Regions from separate parts of the Homo sapiens genome. Here all the other regions are linked to region 5. The links are contacts of gene promoters, found by promoter capture Hi-C in blood cells and fetal thymus (Javierre and others, 2016). All regions are on one chromosome and are shown on one strand. Each heading gives the region's core, a stretch centred on a gene start or on the middle of the fragment in contact. The rest is flanking DNA. Distances are from core to core; before and after follow the strand shown.

Region 1 (2,820 bases), core at 267-2,766, 610 kb before region 5:
TCGGCCCCAGGACTGCCTTGTCAGCACGCCCCTTGAGAAACTTTTCTGAGAAACCTGCTGTTTACCTGGTGCCCTAACCAGTTTAATTTTCTTTTAAAACTTCTACTGGATTTCTCCTTCTCTCCTTTTAGATGCAATTTTGATCTAGAGAAGTAATGGTCTGAGCATCAGTTTATGAAATTATTTTATTTTTCTGCACATAAACATTATTTTTCAAAGACAATTTCATTAACTACATCCTGCAGCTCTGCAGACTTTCAACAACTTTAAAAGGTTAGGCGTTTGAGATATGTTCGCCTTGACTTTCAGTCCTCAAGACATATGTACATTTTTCTTAGTCTCAAAGCTCATGTCTGCACTCTAGTCCTAAAGGATTTGTCTTTATAATTCTCACCTTAGCATGAAATGTGCTTCTCTTTCTTTCCTTCCCCACCCCCCACCCCCTTTTGACATATCCGGTAGGGAAGCTCTGGCAGATTCTCAAGAAGAATTTTGCAAATGGTCGACTTTTGTTCATCTCAGGTTTTGGAGGGAGAGGATAAAAGAACATTCCCTCAGATAATGAGTTTTAACCTTAATTCCTTCCAAAGCGGAGGGGGAAACAAAACTACAGCAAGACCACCTTGAGTACCTTGGGAAGGGCAGCCCCGCGATCCCTAATAAATGAATTAGCATCTCAAGGAGGAGATCACTGCGGGGCTGATATTGATCAGGGTCAGCCGGCGTGTTTGCCAGCCATTGTTTGGGGGGTGGTTAATTGAGTGTCAGTCTCGGCCAGTGTCGTCTCGTTGGCGCCGGGTGCTTTTGGATTTGCTAATTTTCGTTAAGTGTCTCTAGCCCGCTACTCGTCCCGCGTACCCGGGAGAACCTAGCGGCTCCTAACGGATCAACAGTCAGTCTGTCTGGGCTTTATTGATCCCATGGCGGGCAGCTCGAGGCGGACACGCTGAGGGGGTGGGGGGCGAAGGCTGAATGCAGACCCCAGCGCTGGGCCGCCTCCCCCGGGCTCCCACCCGAACCCTCCTCCGCCACCTGCACAGGCCGGGGCATTGTCACTCGCCCCTGGGGGTTCCAGAAAACGCAGTGCGGCCGGGGAGGACGACCACACGGACCCCCTGCGTGTTTCGGGGGGCACCCAAAAGAAGCCCCGCGCTGGGGAACGCTGACCACCCGAGGCTGAGCCGTCAGGGTCTCGGAGGCGGGTTCCCGAGCCGGTCCCGGGGCTGGGCTCCCCCGGCGCCTCGCGAAGGTCACTGACGCGCAGGCCTCCGCAAGGGGGAGCGCGGGAGACGGCAGCGCACCAGCCGGGCGCCCCAGCCGGGCGCCCCAGACGCCGGCGCCGCTCGGAGCCGCCGGGCAGGTCCCCCAGCGCTCGCGTCTGGGCCCGCCCCCCGCTGCGGGGCGGATTGACAGGAGCCCGGCGGCCAATCGGACGCCGTGGGGCGGGGCGAGGCGGGGCGGTGCAGGCCGGCTCCCGGCGCGGGGCGCTATTTACGGCGCGGAGCCGGAGAGACCTGGGCTGGCGCGGGCGGGAGCTGCGGCGGATACCCTTGCGTGCTGTGGAGACCCTACTCTCTTCGCTGAGAACGGCCGCTAGCGGGGACTGAAGGCCGGGAGCCCACTCCCGACCCGGGGCTAGCGTGCGTCCCTAGAGTCGAGCGGGGCAAGGGAGCCAGTGGCCGCCGACGGGGGACCGGGAAACTTTTCTGGGCTCCTGGGCGCGCCCTGTAGCCGCGCTCCATGCTCCGGCAGCGGCCCGAAACCCAGCCCCGCCGCTGACGGCGCCCGCCGCTCCGGGCAGGGCCCATGCCCTGCGCGCTCCGGGGGTCGTAGGCTGCCGCCGAGCCGGGGCTCCGGAAGCCGGCGGGGGCGCCGCGGCCGTGCGGGGCGTCAATGGATCGCCACTCCAGCTACATCTTCATCTGGCTGCAGCTGGAGCTCTGCGCCATGGCCGTGCTGCTCACCAAAGGTGGGTGCCGGGGGCGCACGGGGCCCGGGGTCCCGTCCTCGCCGCGGGGCTTTGGAGCCGGCTGCAGAGGCTTTGTTAGCGGCAGGCGAGGCTCCCTCCTGCGCCGGAGCCGCAGGTCGCGACAAGTTGCTGTGTTCTTAGAAGTCGCGGCGGTGGCCTGGCGCGTGGATGCGGACTCCGATCTAAGGGCAGGCGCTGATCAGAGGGTCCTCCTGGCTCTGCCTGCGGGGAGCGGCGCGTTTGCAGCCCAGCGGGGAGCGGGGCCGGAGTCTCGGCCTCGACGCCGCCGCTTCCGCACCCTGGGGGCTCGGGCGGCCGGGAGGAATCGCAGATCCTGGCCTGTAGCTGCCGCGTGCCCTCAGCGTGTCTGTGTGAGTGCCTCAGGGTGTATTTCTGTGAGTGTGTCTCTGAGTCTCAGTATCCCTAAATGCATTTTTGTGTCTCTGAGTGTCGTTGTGTTTCTGAAAGTGTGTCTGAACCTCTGTATCACTCAGCGTATCTCTGTGTCTCTTTGAATGTATCTCTGAATGCATTTCTGTGTCTCTTTCTGAGTCTTTGTGTCTCTGAATGTGTGAGTCTCTGTATCTCTGATCTTGAGTGTGTCTTTCTGAATGCATTTCTGTGTCTGTCTCTAAGTGTCTTTGTATCTCTGAATGTGCATCTGAGTCTCTGTGTGAGTGTGTCTCTGCGTACATCTCTCTGTGTGCGAGCGAGTGTGTGGGTCTCCCTGAGAGTTTAGGTGTCCGAGGTGTGCAGAAGTGTGTGTTGTGTTGCTTTTCAGCAGCCGGGAGGAGTAGGCTCTGTCAGCGTCTCACTGCCACTCACCTCATATTTTACAAACAGGACCAAAA
Region 2 (2,700 bases), core at 191-2,690, 580 kb before region 5:
CTCGGCCTCCCAAAGCGCTGGGATTACAGGTGTGAGCCACTGTGCCCGGCTGAAGCTGTGTGTTTTCTAATTCCAGAAGCTCTGCTGCTCTCTCGCTGCCATTTCTCCCGACCCATCAGCTAACGTGTGAACTTTTAAAACTATGCCTTTCGATAAGACATTGAATCCCTATTGATAAAAATGGCGTGGCAAGAGTTACATTTTGATCTGTTCTCAGTTATTATACTTTAGTGCATGCAAATAGGTTCTGTTCTTTTTTTTCTGTCGCTTCTTTTAAGAGACGGAATCTTGCTCTGTGTTGCCCAGGCTGGAGTGCAGCGGCACAATCATAGCTCACTGCAGCCTTGAACTCCTGAGCTCAAGTGATCCTTCTGCCTCAGGAGCATCCTGAGTAGCTGGAACTACAGGCATGCACAACCATGACCAGTCAATTCCTCAATTTCTTTTCTTTTCTTTTTCTTTTTCTTTCTTTCTTTTTTTTTTTTTTTTTTTGTAGAGATGAGTGGAGTTCTTGCTATGCTGCCCATGTTGGTCTTGAATTCCTGGCCTCATGTGAGCCTCCCACCTTGGCCTCCCAGAGCACTGGGATTACAGGTGTAAGCCATTGCTCCTGGCCCTATTTTTTCTTGAAAGTGAAGAGTAGAGGATAAAGAAAGGAACTGGGTGGGATAAATATTGGAGATTCAAGCAAGGGGAGAAAAAGGCAGATGTGTTGGAAAATGATAACTTCTTCACCCTTCAGCCTAATATAGGAGCTTCTGGAAACCAAAATACTATACAATCAAGTGACAATGTAACCAGGTTGCAACCAACCTGTAACCAGCTTGGTTTTTTTCTTTTTTGAGATGGAGTCTTGCTCTGTTACCCAGGCTGGAATGCAGTGGCACGACCTCGGCTCACTGCAACCTCCGCCTCCCGGGTTCAAGCTATTCTCACACCTCAGCCTCCTGAGTAGCTGAGATTACAGGCGCCTGCCACCACGCCGGGCTAACTTTTGTATTTTTAGTAGAGATGGGGTTTCACCATGTTGGCCAGGCTGGTCTCAAACTCCTGACCTCAAGTGATCTACCCACCTCAGCCTCCCAAACTGCTGGGATTACAGGCATGAGCCACTGCACCTGGCCTAAATAATTTTATTAGTATTAATTAATTAGTTAGTTTAATTTTTAATTTTTTTTCCCGAAATCTCTTATCTGTCACCCAGGCTGGAGTGCAATGGTGCAATCTCAGCTCACTGCAACCTCCACCTCCCAGGTTCAAGTGATTCTCCTGCCTCAGCCTCCTGAGTAGCTGAGATTATAGATGCACACCACCATGCCCGGCTAACTTTTTGTATTTTTAGTAGAGATGGGGTTTCACCATGTTGGCCAAGCTGGTCTCGAACTCCTGACCTTGTGATCTGCCTACCTCAGCCTCCCAAAGTGCTGGGATTACAGGCATGAGCTGTCACACCTGGCCAATTTTTTAATTTTTAAATTAAATTTAATTAATTAATTTTTTTGAGACAGGGTCTCACTTTGTCATCCAGGCTGGGGTACAGAGGTATGATCACAGCTCACTGCAGCCTCAACCTACCGGGCTCAAGTGATCCTCTGGCCTCAGCGCCCCCAAGTAGCTGGGACTACAGGCATGAGCCACCATGCTAAGCTAATTTTTGTATTTTTTTATAGAGATAGAGTCTCTCTATATTGCCCAGGCTGGTCTTGAACTCCTGGGCTCAAGCAATCCTCTTGCCTTGGCCTCCCAAAGTGCTGGGATTAAGGTCATGAGCCATCGTGCCCAGCCTTAAATAATTTATCTTTCTCCCTCCTCCCTCAGCCTAAGGTAATTATCAAATGAAATAATTCATCAGAAAGAGTTCTGTGACATGTAAAGCCCTGTAATAATGTGTTGGTAATACTATGGTGATAATGGATATTTTTCACAATGGGTATGCATGTGACATGCTGAGTTATGGAGGTATGGACTCAAGGGACAAGGAGTGAAATTGCCACATGTCTCAGGTTGGGGTGGGGGCTTGGGGTGGTAGCTGTGATCAGGGTGCTTGGGGTGGTGGTTGTGGTCAGGGCGAAGGTTGAGGGGAGGGATCTAGACAGCCTGGCCATATTGTTTTTGGAAAGAGCGCTATACAATGTTAATTTCTTCACTGATGAGTCAATGGATGAATGAAAGGATGTCTTCTTTAAACTGCTGCACGTTGGTGGGTAAGTGAATCTGTCCAAGGTAGATGGGAGACTGAAGAGTCAGGGAGGTCAATCTGGTGGGCAGGGGGGCCCATAAGTCAGGCAAGCCTAAGTCTGCTCCTTGAGCAGGTTGCTCAGCCTCTGTGTGGCTCATATCAGCTATCTCAGAGGGTTAAATAAAAAGACATACACAAAGAGGTCGGGCACGGTGGCTCATGCCTGTAATCCCAGCACTTTGGGAGGCCGAGGTGGGCGGATCACCTGAGGTCAGGAGTTCGAGACCAGCCTGGCCAACATGGTGAAACCCCATCTCTACTAAAAATATAAAAAATTAGCCGGGCGAGGTGGCACACGCCTGTAGTCCCAGCTACTCAGGAGGCTGAGGCAGGAGAATTGCTTGAACCCAGGAGGCGGAGGTTGCAGTGAGCCGAGATGGAGCCACTGCACTCCAGCCTGGGCGATGAGAGCAAAACTCTGTCAAAAAAAAAAAAAAAAAAGAAGAAGAAGACATACGCAA
Region 3 (2,729 bases), core at 16-2,515, 850 kb before region 5:
GTTTGATGTCACCTTCCTAGGTCAATGTGTATGTGAATATATTTTTAGGTTCTTGGCTTGCTTTTTAAAAGTGGGATTATGCTGAATCTACTATTTTCTAGTAGGCTTTTTCGCTTAACAGCTTGTTTTGAGTATTTTCTTATGTTATTAAGTAACCTTCTCTAATATTAAAATAATGAATCAGTGGAGGAAATGAAGAAATAAATGTTTAATATTAACCATAAGGCTCATGTTAACTGAGCTACATCCCATTTCACCAGCTTCAAGTACAAGATGAAGTCAAATATCTCTTGTTTTTTGGTTTTTTGTTTTGTTTTGTTTTTTTGAGACAGAGTCTCTCACTCTGTCACCCAGGCTGGAGGGCAGTGGCACAATCTTGGCTCACTGCAACCTCCGCCTCCCGGGTTCAAGCGATTCTCCTGCCTCAGTCTCCTGAGTAGATGGGATAACAGGCGCGCACCAGTATGCCTGGCTAATTTTTGTATTTTTAGTAGAGATGGGGTTTCACTATGTTGGCCAGGCTGGTCTCGAACTCCTGACCTCAAGTGATCTATCCACCTCGGCCTCCCAAAGTGCTGGGATTACAGGCATGAGCCATTGTGCCTGGCCATCAAATATCTCTTAATAGTCAAATCAAGCTTCTCTGAAACCTCATCTTGCCAGTCGAGTAATTTTTTTCTCCTCTTCAAGGGTCTTCTCTCTCATTATAACTTGAAGAACCCCAAGAATGCTTCAGGTAAGAGATGAGTCTGGGCTACCACTGCCTCAGGTGAAAAACAGCCAAACGCTCTGCATGAGCTAGGGATTGCCAGCTGCTGTAACAATTAACCCCCCATACAACACAAGGTTATTTCTTACTTGCTTAAGAGTTCAAACCTGTGCTCCCTGTTGGGTGGGGAAAGTGATGGGGAGCAGCTCTGATTTTGGTCTCTCTAGACACTGGCATCCAGCCAGCAGAAGAGGGAAATGCCTGGAGGATCCTCATGTGAGATCCTCGTGGGACTTCCACCATATCCTATTGGCAGGAGTCACTCCCACGGCCATACCTCATTGCCAGGTAGGCTGGGAAATGTGATATGACTCTGTGCCCAGGAAGAAGAGAATGTGAATTTTGGTAAGTACTATTTCTATTTCTATTTCTGCCACCTTCTACTCTTTTGGCACCAAATGCAGACAGTCCTTACTTATAATTTTTCAACTAATTATTTTTTGACTTTATGATGGTGCAAAAGCAACATGAATTCAGTAGAAACAGTACTTCAGGTATTCACACAGCCATTCTGTTGTTCATTTTCCATACAGTACTCAATAAATTACATAAGATATTTAACACTTTCATATAAAATCAGCTTTGCGTTAGATGATTTTGTCCAACTGCGGACAAACATAAGTGCTCTGAGCATGTTTAAGGTAGGCTAGGCTGAGCTATGATTTCAGTAGATTAGTTCTATTCGATGCATTTTCAACTTGCGATGTTTTCCACTCACAGTGGGTTTATTGGGATGTAGCCCCATCATAAGTGGAGGAGCATCTGTTCTTGTTTGCAGCTTTCTTCCTACAGCAGAGAACACACCCATTCCTCTACTGCCTGCAGCTCATACTCCAGAACCTTGCTCTGATTCACAGTTCTCATCCTCAGGTTTGGAAAGAGACCTTTGCAGTCCAGTGATCTATGAACTACAATTTAAGTCATCGCTCCTCCCTCCTTTCCCAAGCACTGGGCACAAAAGTAAAACACAGTGCCAGACCTTGAGGGATCCAAAAACACATCTCAATGTTCAATCATCATGGAAGAATGAAAATTGTTCTACTAAACCATGTGCCAGGCTGAGCGGGAGCTCCAGGGAGGAAAAACAAGTGCCTGAGAAGGTCAGAGAAGATTCTCATTGGAGTTAAGCTTGAAAACTGAATTGGGGTTTTCCAGGAGGCCACAAGGCCAAAGGATTTTCCACTCTCAATAAACACTCTGTAGAAAGTAGTAACAGCTAATTACAGACAACTTTAATCTCTCTCTTGCCAATTTCCAGAACTCAAGTTTTAAGTAGTGAGTGAACATAAATTATCTTTTTGACAGGCAGGCTGCTCCTGCATCTGCTTTGGTTCTGTCTGGAATCTTGGAAGCTTTCCTTACTACACTCTTCCACACAGTTGCCTCTAGAGTTTACTAGAATGTTCTAGCAAGAGGCACAGACACTTACGCACCCTGGACTGAAGAAATGTGCTCCTCTGTCTGGGAAGGCAGCCTGCTCCGCCAGTGGGCCGTTCAAGGAAGGAGGCATGTGCAGCAGTGACTTGGATAGGATGCTACCCAGATGGGCAGAATCTACCCTGGCCATCAATGGGGTGATCAGCGTTGCAGCCACATCACCCTTCCATCCAGCATTCTTCTTTGGCTTTAGGTGTCTTCACTCTTAATAGCACAAAAGTTGAGGAGGTGTCTCTTCCAGAATAGAGTGAAAACTGCCTGTTGTTTGCCCCAGTGTGGTGGCTCACACCTATAATCCCAATACTCTGTGAGGCCAAGGAGGGAGGATCACTTGAGCTCAGGAGTTCCAGACTAGCCTGGGCAACATAGCAAGACCCCACCTCTACAAAAAAAAAATTTTTTTTTAATCTAGGTATGATGGTGCATGCTTGTAGTCCCAGCTACTTGGGAGGCTAAGACAGGAAGATCACTTGAGCCCAGAATTTTGAGGGGACAGGGAGCCATGATCTTGCCACTGTACTCC
Region 4 (2,815 bases), core at 257-2,756, 680 kb before region 5:
TACTCCCTTTTTTGTATCCATTTTTAGATTTATTAGGGTGGATCTTGATATAGGATTTGAATGGCCAGCTTGTCTAAAAGGGCAATCACATGAAATAGCAGTTGTTTATCCAGTTAATTCCATATAACATACTGAACACTCACATATGAATAGGTTTCTGACATAATTGGAAGTTCCTGTGAACACTCGTTAAATTTTGTAGAGAGACTTTGTTCAGGTGATCATCTTAATTAGTGTAAAAGAAACTCTGTTGGTTTACCTTTATTGTAAACCCATTAAGTTTCTTTTTCTCTGCCTCAGATCATTTCAAATTTGGGACCCATTGTATTACTCCTATCTAGTAGGCTTTTATTTTGAGAGTTCTAGGTTGAAATATTCCAGTTTCTTGTGAGTTCTCTTCCTTGTCAGGTTGTTACTAATGCCACATAAGCCTCTTGTTTTTATATGAATGTATGAAATAATATGTTTTTAGTTCTTACAGCAGCTGTGACACAAGCCTCACTGCAGTCTATAATTCATAAGTTTCTTACTGCTGGACCATCTGCTTTCAACATAACGTCTCTGATTTCTCAAGCTGCTCAGCTCTCTACACAAGGTATTCTTACTCATCTTAGATATCTCTAGAATGGCATCTTGATTTTGTTTTGGAATTAATAGCCCTTTTTTGTATTTAGTTTTTTCTTTCATTTTTTTTTTTAGTTTTTTAAGAGATTAGCTACAATAATTTTGTTTTTTTTGTAACACTGGCATATACAGTAGTATTTTTATTTCCTTTCTTTTTAGATGAAGCAAGCTTTGACATTTGTCTTAAGGTATTGCCATCAAATCTGTAATTATTTAAGACAGTATTTAATTCAGACTTTGTTATTAATGAGTTTTTTTATGCCAAAGCTGAAAGTAAACTATGATGTGCCATATATCTTTGTGAAACATTGCATGTATTTGAAGAGTTGAAGTTTGGTTCAGATTGACGTTAGATGTTTTTTGACTGGATAATATGGAAATGCTCATTTTCTGCCTTGAATTAGATATCCCTCTTCATGAAGGTATCCAAATGGAGAGAGATACACATAGGAGCAAATGGGAAGTGAAAGGGTCACTTTGTCAGAAAGCTGATAAACAGCAGGAATGCCTTGTCTGGAATGGAAGTATAATGGTGCAAAGACTCTTGCAACCCTCTGGCTAGCCTCATGAGCAGGAGACTGCGTGGGATACCTGGGCCTAAATGTAGAATAAGAAAGAAGAAATAAGGATGGTGAGGAGGCCTTCCATGTGAGATTAGGTTCAGGCCTAGCTTCCTGTTCCAGCCACATAAAGGAGAGTGGGCCACACTGGGTGTGCTTACCTCTGAACACACAGCTCACTTAGTCAGTGTGGCCCAGTGAGAAGGTCAGATTCTGATTTATTCCAATAAGTGTTCTCTGGGTAATATGGGGGTGGGGGGGTTTAGAGTAATACAAATATCTTTGCCACATATATTACAAAGGACTTTAGTTTTTTGTTTTGTTTTGTTTTTCTTTAAAATTAATTGCTTCCCTCTTTTACAGCCCAGCCATCTAATCAGTCTCCGATGTCTTTAACATCTGATGCGTCATCCCCAAGATCATATGTTTCTCCAAGAATAAGCACACCTCAAACTAACACAGTCCCTATCAAACCTTTGATCAGTACTCCTCCTGTTTCATCACAGCCAAAGGTATGTCACCTTTGAGGGACATTCGGAAAAGAAACTACTTACTTTTGGAAAGTCAATAACATTTTAGAATCTGTTATAGAAAAAGCCCTCTGAGAATGAGGTGTAGTGGTGGAATGAATGACAGGTATGATAGTAGATGCAGCCTAGAATTTCTCAGTTCACTGAGGGATAGAGGGGGGCTTTGAATCTGTGCTACTTTAATAAACCATCTGAGTCTGTTCCCTAATGGTTTTGGGATTTGTCACATGGAGAGTGAGATAAAGAGGATATACTGAGTCTTAATATTTGTAGAATTTTCAAACTCCAAAAGACATGAATGAACATGTTTTCCAGTGACTTTTCCATATTTGTATTTCAAAAATGAGGCAGTTTCTGTGCTAAGAACTTAATGTATGTTTAGCTTTCACATCGTGAGAATCACTTGCTTTATTTAATAGATGAGAAAATCAAACTCTCAGTTAAGTTTTTGTGGTAGAGTCAGAATTTGAAACCTAGGTGTTTGTGAATACAGGGACCCATTTTACTAAGCTTATATTGCCTGTATTTGTCCCAGCAGAATCTTACATGGTTGGCTCCATAGGTGCAGTTAGAAAATTGCTGGTCTAAATGGTAAATGTAGGGGGAATTTCTTTTGAGTAGTTTTGAAACAGTGGGCTGTTTCAGACTTTTTAATGCCAAATAATTCTTTGTAAGATATTAAGCAGAAGCCCAAAAATAAAAATGCATTGAAATATAACTTGAAAGAGGTGGTTGGTCAGCTTTTAAGTCTTCCCGTTTGTTCATCCCTTCCCTACCTTGGCCATTGATCATTGCATGTTTTAGGGTCAATTTAGATTGATTTTTAAAATTCCAAGTTACAGTTGTTAGTTTATTATGCAGTTCCTTATCATTTGCCAGTATTTTAAGGAGGAAAGAATTAAAATGTGAGTTTTGGCAAAAGAGATGTTATTTTTGGAGCTTAGAACTTGTCTTCAGGGTGGCATTTTAAGAGTATAGTAAATAGTGGTTAAAAGTGAAATAAGTGGTAGTATTGGTTTTATAGTCACTTGTAAACTGAGCATTTCAACTCCTTTAAGAAGGCTGGGCGCGGTGGCTCACAGCTATAATTACAGCACTTAG
Region 5 (2,701 bases), core at 169-2,668:
TATAGTTGTCAGTATATATATCCTGCACATATTTTGTTAGGTTTAAATTTAAGTACTTCATTTGCATTTGTGTACTATTGTAAATGGATTTTTTTTTATTTCAAACTCTTATTTTCTATTCCTAGTATATAAGATTGTAAATGGCTTTTGTATATTTACGTCATATCTGAAAACTTGCTAAGCAAGCATTTTTGAAAAAGAAAAAGACAATCCGTCTCTATTTTCTCACTGGTAAGATCCCTATTTCAAAGCATTTTGAAAAAGATGTTTGAGGGAAAAACCTATACATTTTCTCATATTATAGACTGTTCACAAGAAGTCCACTAATGGCTTCTAAAGATAAAAAAGACCCTCAAGCAGCTTGAAATAACGAAAGTTGAAATTGAAACTCTGCTGAAAAATTATGTTTCATCTCTAATATTGAGAAATATTGAAACATTTGATAACACAGTGTGCTATCTTCCTGATACAAGCCCATGTGAAAGGCAATTTGGCAAATATCTAGCAAAATTACAAAATTATACCCTTTGATCCAGCAAGATATTCTTGTAAAGTTACAAATGACATATGTACAAAATTACTGGTTGTAATATGTTTACAATAGAAGAATAAAATAAGTGTGCATCAATATGAAATTGGCTAAGTATGCTATGTTGTATCTGTATAATGCAATACTATATGAACTTCAAAATAGATTTCAACAAAACCTTTGCATTATTGGCAGATGGAATTTAAGAAAATATAACGATTAGTTAGGTGCAGCCAACAATAAACTTCTACTTAGATCTACATATTCTAATGAGAATTCATTTCAAATGTGTCACTAAATCTGAACATTGAAATAAATAGACCTTGAAAACAGCCCTTTAGTTATTGATTCACAAAGTGTTAAGCCAAATTTTTCAAAAATAATAAAATCATGTTATTACAAAAATATTTTATTAATAATAATTTGACTATAGCAAATGTGCTGTTAATAAATTTTTAATGTTAATTTCACCTCTATGTCATTAATTTTCAAATTTTAGTTTTATGTATGTTGATAATTTATGTAGCATATTAGTACTGAGGTACAGAAGTATGATTTATAACTCAATGTACATCTAAAGAGGATACATGCTTAACTTTCTTTATTAATGGAATTTGTGATAAAGTTTGCAGACGCCTCAGAGAAGAGCTCTCACTTGGACAGGAGGCCCTGGCCAAGTTGTGTAATGAGGAGGGTTGTTGAGGGGAAAAGACAAAAAACAAGAGGTATTAAGCCCCAGAAGACAGTTATCACCTGCCTCAGAACACAAGCATGCAGGATGATACAGCTTTTAGTGCCAAGAAGTAGAATTCTAGCATCTCTAGGTGGTGAGAAACAAAGGATTAAGAATTTTTCTTTCTCTAACACTCTAAAGAAATGTTCTTGAGCTAGGAAAGGATTACTCGCGCCTCGTTAGAATCAGACATGGCTTCAGGGGATGCAGGACGCTCCCCTGAGCTGCCTGTCACCGACTAAGTGGAGCAGTGTTTCTTCCGCAGACTCAACTGAGAAGTCAGCCTCTGGGGCAGGCACCAGGAATCTGCCTTTTCAGTAAGACCTAAATTACTCTTATGAGAACCAGCAATGGCAGGTTCTTGAAGGATGTAGAACATGATGCTTGGGGTTATCATTGCTGCGGGTTTTCTTTGGACTTGTTTGAGATCAGTAAAATTCTAAGGCAGGGGATGGAAACCAACTCTATTTGTAAGCTCTGTATCTTTTTTTCTTTTTTCTTTTCTTTTTTTTTTTTTTTTTTAGACAGGGTCTCTCACTCTGCTGCCCAGGCTGGAGTGCAGTGTCACAATCATGGCTCACTATGGCCTCAAACTCCCAGCCTCAAGTGATCCTCCCACCTCAGCCTCCCCAGTAGCTGGGACCACAGGCACACACCACCATGCCTGGCTAATTTTTGTATATTTTGTAGAGGCAGGGTCTACCTTTGCTGCCCAGGCTAGTCTCAAACTCCTGGCTTCAAGCAATCTGCTCACCTCAGCCTCCCAAAGTGCTTGGATTACAGGTATCACCCACCATGCCTGGCCTTAGCTCTGCATCTTAAACCTCGTTTGTCTGTCCCTCACAGCTTAACACAGTGCTGTACACAGCGGACTGGCATGCTCTCTCTGAAAAGGGCCAGATAATAATATGTTAGGCTTTGTGGTCTATACGGCCTCAAACACAATTACTGAACTCTGCCACTGTAGTTGGAAATCAGCCACCAATGATATATTACCAAATGGGTGTAGCTATGTTTCAATAAAACTTTACATACAAAAGCGGGCCTGGTTTGCCCACGCTTGCTATTCACGTTTGTAATGTACATGCCCCTCATGCAATGCAGTTCCTTACCTTATTGCTTAGTCACCTTAAAGCCCTGCTTGTTACTTGGTGCGGTGGCCTTGCTGATGACTACTTATCCCTGTTTTGGGCCTAGCCTTTCAATGCAGGAATCCAGCCCCAGGGAGAGAAACTAATGACTGGAGAAGTTTCTAGGCAAGTGCAGAAAATGACACGGGATGAACATATGTAAGAACATCAAGTTCAGGATCCCGAGTAGTTGTCAGAAATTTCACTTCACCCCATCCCAGCAAGGCTGTTGTATTTGGGGAAGACATTATTTCAAGAGGGGAAGAGATTGTGGAAAATCAGTAGGCAGCAGGAGACAGCTCTCTTGAT
Region 6 (2,700 bases), core at 159-2,658, 560 kb before region 5:
ACTCAGGGGTTCAAAGCTGCAGTGAGCTATGATTGCACCACTGCATTCCAGCTTAGGTGACAGAGTGAGACCCTGTCTCTAAAAAAATAAATAAATACAAATAAAATAAAATCTAGGCTGGGCACGATGGCCCACGCCTGTAATCCCAGCACTTTGGGAGGCTGAGGTGGGTGGATCACAAGGTCAGGAGTTCGAGATCAGCCTGGCCAATATGATGAAACCCTGTCTCTACTAAAAATACAAAAATTAGCCGGGCGTGGTGGCAGGCACCTGTAGTCCCAGTTACTCAGGAGTCTGAGGCAGGAGAATTGCTTGAACCCCGGAGGTGGAGGTTGCAGTGAGCCGAGATCACGCCTCTGCACTCCAACCTGGGTGACAGAATGAGACAAAACAAAAAACAAAAAAACAAAACAAAACAAAAATCTAGATGCTTTAATTCCTACTTCAATATTATTTTTCCTACATTTCCAACAATAAGGAATATCTAGAATGGATTGGTGATGCTTGATGAGTCTCTGGTTAAGATTTTCAAAATAAAATCTGTAGCATAGAATGAAACATTGAGTTTGTCCACAGGAACACGGCTCCAAGGGGACCTTTTCCTTGAAAGATCTCTGGAATGTTCACTTGCCCTAAGAAGGAACATCTCTGTTGCTTGTACATCAAAGAAAAGAAGGGAAAAGGAAAGAGGAGGCCAGGCATGGGGGCTCACGCCTGTAATCCCAGCACTTTGGGAGGCTGAGGCAGGCAGATCACCTGAGGTCAGGAGTTCAAGACCAGCCTGGCCAACATGGTGAAACCCCGTCTCTACTAAAAATACAAAAATTAGCTGGATGTGGTGGCACAATTACAGCCTGTAATCCCAGCTACTTGGGAGGCTGAGGCACGAGAATCGCTTGAACCCGGGAGGCAGAGGTTGCAGTGAGCCAAGACCGCGCCATTTCACTCCAGTCTAAGCAACAAGAGTGAGACAAAAAAAAAAAAAAAAAAAAAGAGCAAAAAAGTCGTGGCTCAAGGCAAGATCGGGTGGTAAATAAGAGTTGATCTGGATTTAGAGCTAAGGTCCTTTTGAGAATTTTCTCCCTGAGGCCGCAGTTGAAGATTCATTTTGGGGTTGCCCTGTTCAGCAAGGAGGCTCTGAGGAGTGCAAGGGTGTGGGGACTTCTAAGAATGTGTTTTTTGAGTCAAAATAGAAACTTTTCCTTACATTCTGACTCACAGGGGATTAGAAGGTAGTGCATGGATTAGACGAAAATGCCTCAGTTAAGAATTTAATCCTGTTAGGCAACAGTAAGTCACTATTTTTAAAGGGTTTTGTGCCAAAAAGTAGAAAGGAAAAAAAAAAGTGGCATCCACAGTTTGCAGGAGATAATTGTTTCTAAAGAGCTGCTTGCTTGAGGCCTCTTGAATGCTACATTTTCTTCCAGGTTCTTCTAAAGAGAATAATGGGTTTAAATTGGGGGTGTGAGCGCTACCTTGGCTAGGGGTTACCAGTGGGGCTGTTTTGGCTTCAGGTGATGCCCAGGGCTGGAGCTGGAAGAGATGAGAGGAGCCAGGAGTGAGGGATTCTGGCTTCCTATCCTGTTGTCAGAGTTCAGTTATGCAGGGGAATGAGACAGAAAACGAAACCAAATGTTTACACTGATTTTGACTTTGTAGACTTGACAGTCGATTAAAATCCGTCCAGTGCCTTTTTCCTTTCCTTTTCCTTTCCCCTTTCCTTTCCTCATTCCTTCCTTCCTTTTTTTTTTTTTGACAGAATCTCGCTCTGTTGCCCAGGCTGGAGTGCAGTAGCGCAATCTCAGTTCATTGTAACCTCTGCCTCCTGAGTTCAAGTGATTCTCCTGCCTCAGCCTCCGGAGTAGTTGGGATTACAGGCGCATGCCACCACCCAGCAAATTTTTGTATTTTTAGTAGAGATGGGTTTTCGCCATGTTGGACAGGCTGGTCTCGAACTCCTGACCTCAGGTGATCCCTCATCTTGGCCTCCCAAAGTGCTGGGATTACAGGCATGAGCCACCGTGCCCGGCCTGTTTGCTTGCTTGCTTTCTTTTCTTTTCTTTCTTTTCTTTTCTTTTCTTTCTTTTCTTTTCTTTTCTTTCTTTTCTTTCTTTCTTTCTTTTTTCTTTCTTTCTTTCTTTCTTTCTTTCTTTCTTTCTTTCTTTCTTTCTTTCTTCCTTCCTTCCCTCCCTCCTTTCTTTCTTCTTTCTTTTCTTTCTTTTTTTCTTTCTTTTCTTTCTTCTTTCTTCCTCTCTTTCTCTCTCTGTTTCTCTCTCTCTCTCTTTCTCTCTCTGTCTTTTCTTTTCTTTTCCTTTTCTTTCTAGACAGAGTTTCACTCTGTCACCCAGGCTGTAGTGCAGTGGCATAATCTCGGCTCACTGCAACCTCTGCCTCCCAGATTAAAGCAATTCTTGTGTGTCAGCCTCCCGAGTAGCTGGGATTATAGGCCTGCACCACCATGCCTGGTCAATTTCTGTATTTTTTGTAGAGATGGGGTTTCTCTATGTTGGCCAGGCTGGTCTCAAACTCCTGGCCTCAAGGGATCTACCAGCCTTGGCCTCCCAAAGTGCTGGGATAACAGGCGTGAGCCACTGCGCCCAGTCTTCTTGTTTCTATTGTTACAAGACTCATTTTGAAGGGTAAGGACTTTGCTTAAGATCTGTTTTGTTTTTCCCTTTCTGTTGTATTTATTTATTTTGT
Region 7 (2,700 bases), core at 12-2,511, 650 kb before region 5:
GTGGCAGGTGCCTGTAATCCCAGCTACACAGGAGGCTGAGGCAGGAGACTCACCTGAACCTGGGAGATAGAGGTTACGGTGAGCCAAGGTCGTGCCACTGCACTCCACCCTGGGCAACAGAGCAAGACTCTGTCTCAAAAAAAAAAAAAAAAAAAAAAGGAAAGAAAAAAAGAAAGTGACTGAGTGAGGTTTCAGAGAGCAGGGTCCAGCCTTAGACTGGATATGACAGTGCCCATGAAGCTGCAGGAGTGACCTCCCACGAGGTCCTGTCTGTACCTGCAGGCCTGCACGGACTCAGGGCGGCTTGTGTTGCAAGTGTGCATGGAGCAGGGTTTCTCTATCCAGGCATGCTACTGGGCTGTTCCGGTCAGGGGGTTACTGCAACACCTGCCAAACACACAAAACCAGGCTTGTGAAATAAGATAAAGAACCCACCTTTGTTTTTTGAGCTCTTTTTCAGCCCTCCCTGTTAGACCCCAAAGTCACCCATAAATCCAGTGAGGTTGACTGCTCTTATATCTCAGGAATTCCTGAGTAGGGCAGAGCAGGTGGGACTGTGCTTCTGTAGGCACTGACCACAGGCCTTCATCTCAGCTTAAAAGCCATGAGCATCTTGGGGAGGGCGACCCTGCAGCCTGGTTTGCTTGGCAATGTTCCACTTATGTCTGTTGAACTGGCACCTCAAGTAACCCTAAATTTCCCTCTCAAAAGTGTTTCTATCATGGGTGCAGTGGCTCACGCCTATCATCCCAGCATTTTGGGAGGCTGAGGCGGGCAGATTACCTGAGGTCAGGAGTTCGAGAGCAGCCTGGCCAACATGGTGAAACCCTGTCTGTACTAAAAATACAAAAATTAGCCAGCATGGTGGTGCATGCCTGTAATCCCAGCTACTCAGGAGGCTGAGGCAGGAGGATTGCTTGAACCCGGGAGGCAGAGGTTGCAGTGAGCCGAGATCATGCCACTATACTCCAGCCTGGGTGACAGAGCAAGACTCTGTCTCAAGAAAAAAAAGAAAGAAAAAAAAACCAGTTTCTGTTTGGATGATAAATTACATGGCCACTGTGAGGGTACTAGTACTGTGTGTTACTGGCTGGGGTCCCAGGGTCCTGGTGAGACTCATGTGTCCTTACCCATCGGGCTGCTAGCCTGAGCGGATCACCTGGTCCACACCAGCGAAGATTTCATTGATTGGAAGAAGATCTGAATTAAGCTGTGACTTGTCCTTGCTTCCAGAGGAATTAGTTTATTTATGAGATTAAACTAATCTGCACCTTCTGCTCCAAGGACTTAGAGTCGAACTAGCTGATTGTTATTTAGGTTGAACCAAGCCAACGTATTCAGAAGGGCTGGGGAGAAGACACAGGGGAACGCAGGGAACATAGCCTCTGCCAGGAGCATTGTAGACAAAACAGAGCTTTCCGTCTTGGGGGAAAATGCAAAACCAAAATTGGATTTTTGGTAACTGCTCAGTCATTTCATGTAGAAGGACCACAATTATTTTTTTATGTTTTTGTGAAATGTTTTTTTCAAAGTGGAAAGTTACTACCACTGCAACCACCCCCAATTTAAAGTAAACACATGCTCATTAAAAAAAAAAAAAAAAAAAGCCAGATGCAGTGGTTCACAGCTATAATCCCAACAGTTTGGGAGGCCAAGGCAGGAGGATCGTTTGAGCTCAGAAATTTGAGACCAGCCTGGAAAACATAATTAGACCCCATCTCTACAAAAATAAAAAATTGGACATAGTGGTTCACAACTTTAGTCCCAGCTACTCGGGAGGCTGAGGTGGGAGGATCACTTTAGCCTGGAGTTCGAGGCTGCAGTGAGCTATGATAGTGCCACTGAACTCCAGCCTGGGCAACAGAGCAAGATCCCTGTCTCAAAAAAGAAAAAAAATTGCTTGAAAAATATTGAAATGTGTAAGGAGAAAAATAAAACATCCTTTATTTATTCTATTCAAGGATAACCATTGTTTATATATGTATGTATATATATACACACAGATATATCTCCAGATTTTTTTAATTAGTTAACTTATACAAACAAAATATATCTTTACAAAACTAGAATCATCCCATCCATATTGTTTTGTTAACTTCTCTTTACACTTAACATATAGATGGATATCATTGCATGTCAAGGAACATAGAACCACATGATGATTTTTACTGCCCACATATTATTCTAAGTACAGCAATATCATCATTTATTTCCTGACAACCACCTGTTGTTAGACATCAAGGTTGGTTTTTTTTAAAAGTTTTTTAATTAAAAAAAATTTTTTGGCCTACTTCAGTAAGCTAGTCTGGAGGCTTTTCTTAATTTTTTATAGTGCTTTAGATAACATTCTTATATATGTAACATTACTTGATTGTTTAGTGCTCAGGAGAAATTCTGAGATGCAAAATTGCTAGGCCAAAAGGAATATCTATTTTTAAGACTTTTGACAATGCCAAACTGACCTCCAGCAGTATGGACCAATTAATCTGGCCAGCAACATTGAAGAGAATGCCCTTTGTCACACCCTTTCTGGCCCAGGCACTGTCATTCTTATTATATATTGGTAATCTGATGAGTGAAAAATGATCATATAAAATGTTGACTTTAGGAAACTCTTTCTATAGGGAAGATCCTCTTTTTTTATTGATGTGTGTATTACGAATATTACTTCACAATTTATGACTTGTTTGTTTTGTTTTC

Evidence for each region. The method cuts DNA at HindIII sites, captures the fragments that hold promoters and counts their contacts. A CHiCAGO score of 5 or more calls a contact.
Region 1: the fragment with the promoter of BAMBI here is called in contact with the fragment with the promoter of LYZL1 in region 5 in 3 of 17 cell types (endothelial precursors, megakaryocytes and M2 macrophages); the score reaches 9.0 in endothelial precursors.
Region 2: a fragment that was not itself captured here is called in contact with the fragment with the promoter of LYZL1 in region 5 in 1 of 17 cell types (M0 macrophages); the score reaches 5.4 in M0 macrophages.
Region 3: a contact is called between a fragment that was not itself captured here and the fragment with the promoter of LYZL1 in region 5, in 1 of 17 cell types (endothelial precursors). The highest score is 5.2, in endothelial precursors.
Region 4: a contact is called between a fragment that was not itself captured here and the fragment with the promoter of LYZL1 in region 5, in 1 of 17 cell types (megakaryocytes). The highest score is 5.8, in megakaryocytes.
Region 6: a fragment that was not itself captured here is called in contact with the fragment with the promoter of LYZL1 in region 5 in 1 of 17 cell types (M2 macrophages); the score reaches 5.2 in M2 macrophages.
Region 7: a fragment that was not itself captured here is called in contact with the fragment with the promoter of LYZL1 in region 5 in 4 of 17 cell types (M1 macrophages, endothelial precursors, megakaryocytes and 1 more); the score reaches 10.9 in M1 macrophages.

The regions. Positions count from the first base shown.
Region 1 is chr10:28,676,005-28,678,824 of GRCh38, forward strand. BAMBI (BMP and activin membrane bound inhibitor) reads left to right here and starts at 1,517. Exons shown (of 3, transcript NM_012342.3): 1 at 1,517-1,969. The coding sequence starts at 1,894. RefSeq lists silencers at 985-1,544, 2,270-2,414. The HindIII fragment of the contact is 30,480 bases long and covers 1-2,820 here.
Region 2 is chr10:28,705,998-28,708,697 of GRCh38, forward strand. It overlaps LOC105376470 (a long non-coding RNA gene), which reads left to right and starts at 2,032. Exons shown (of 4, transcript XR_001747282.1): 1 at 2,032-2,204. The HindIII fragment of the contact is 7,969 bases long and covers 1-2,700 here.
Region 3 is chr10:28,440,519-28,443,247 of GRCh38, forward strand. All of the region lies in intron 1 of LINC02652 (long intergenic non-protein coding RNA 2652), which reads right to left. It overlaps LOC107984216 (a long non-coding RNA gene), which reads left to right and starts at 644. Exons shown (of 3, transcript XR_001747401.2): 1 at 644-736; 2 at 937-1,114; 3 at 1,640-1,855. It also overlaps the pseudogene RN7SKP39. The HindIII fragment of the contact is 1,259 bases long and covers 637-1,895 here.
Region 4 is chr10:28,610,227-28,613,041 of GRCh38, forward strand. It overlaps WAC (WW domain containing adaptor with coiled-coil), which reads left to right. Exons shown (of 14, transcript NM_016628.5): 9 at 473-595; 10 at 1,548-1,696. Among named protein-coding and RNA genes, the nearest start is that of BAMBI, 66 kb to the right of the region's middle. The HindIII fragment of the contact is 1,431 bases long and covers 792-2,222 here.
Region 5 is chr10:29,287,652-29,290,352 of GRCh38, forward strand. It overlaps LYZL1 (lysozyme like 1), which reads left to right and starts at 1,419. Exons shown (of 5, transcript NM_032517.6): 1 at 1,419-1,579. The HindIII fragment of the contact is 7,983 bases long and covers 1-2,701 here.
Region 6 is chr10:28,729,000-28,731,699 of GRCh38, forward strand. No RefSeq gene overlaps it. Among named protein-coding and RNA genes, the nearest start is that of LINC01517, 13 kb to the right of the region's middle. The HindIII fragment of the contact is 7,767 bases long and covers 1-2,700 here.
Region 7 is chr10:28,636,395-28,639,094 of GRCh38, forward strand. No RefSeq gene overlaps it. Among named protein-coding and RNA genes, the nearest start is that of BAMBI, 40 kb to the right of the region's middle. The HindIII fragment of the contact is 5,426 bases long and covers 1-2,700 here.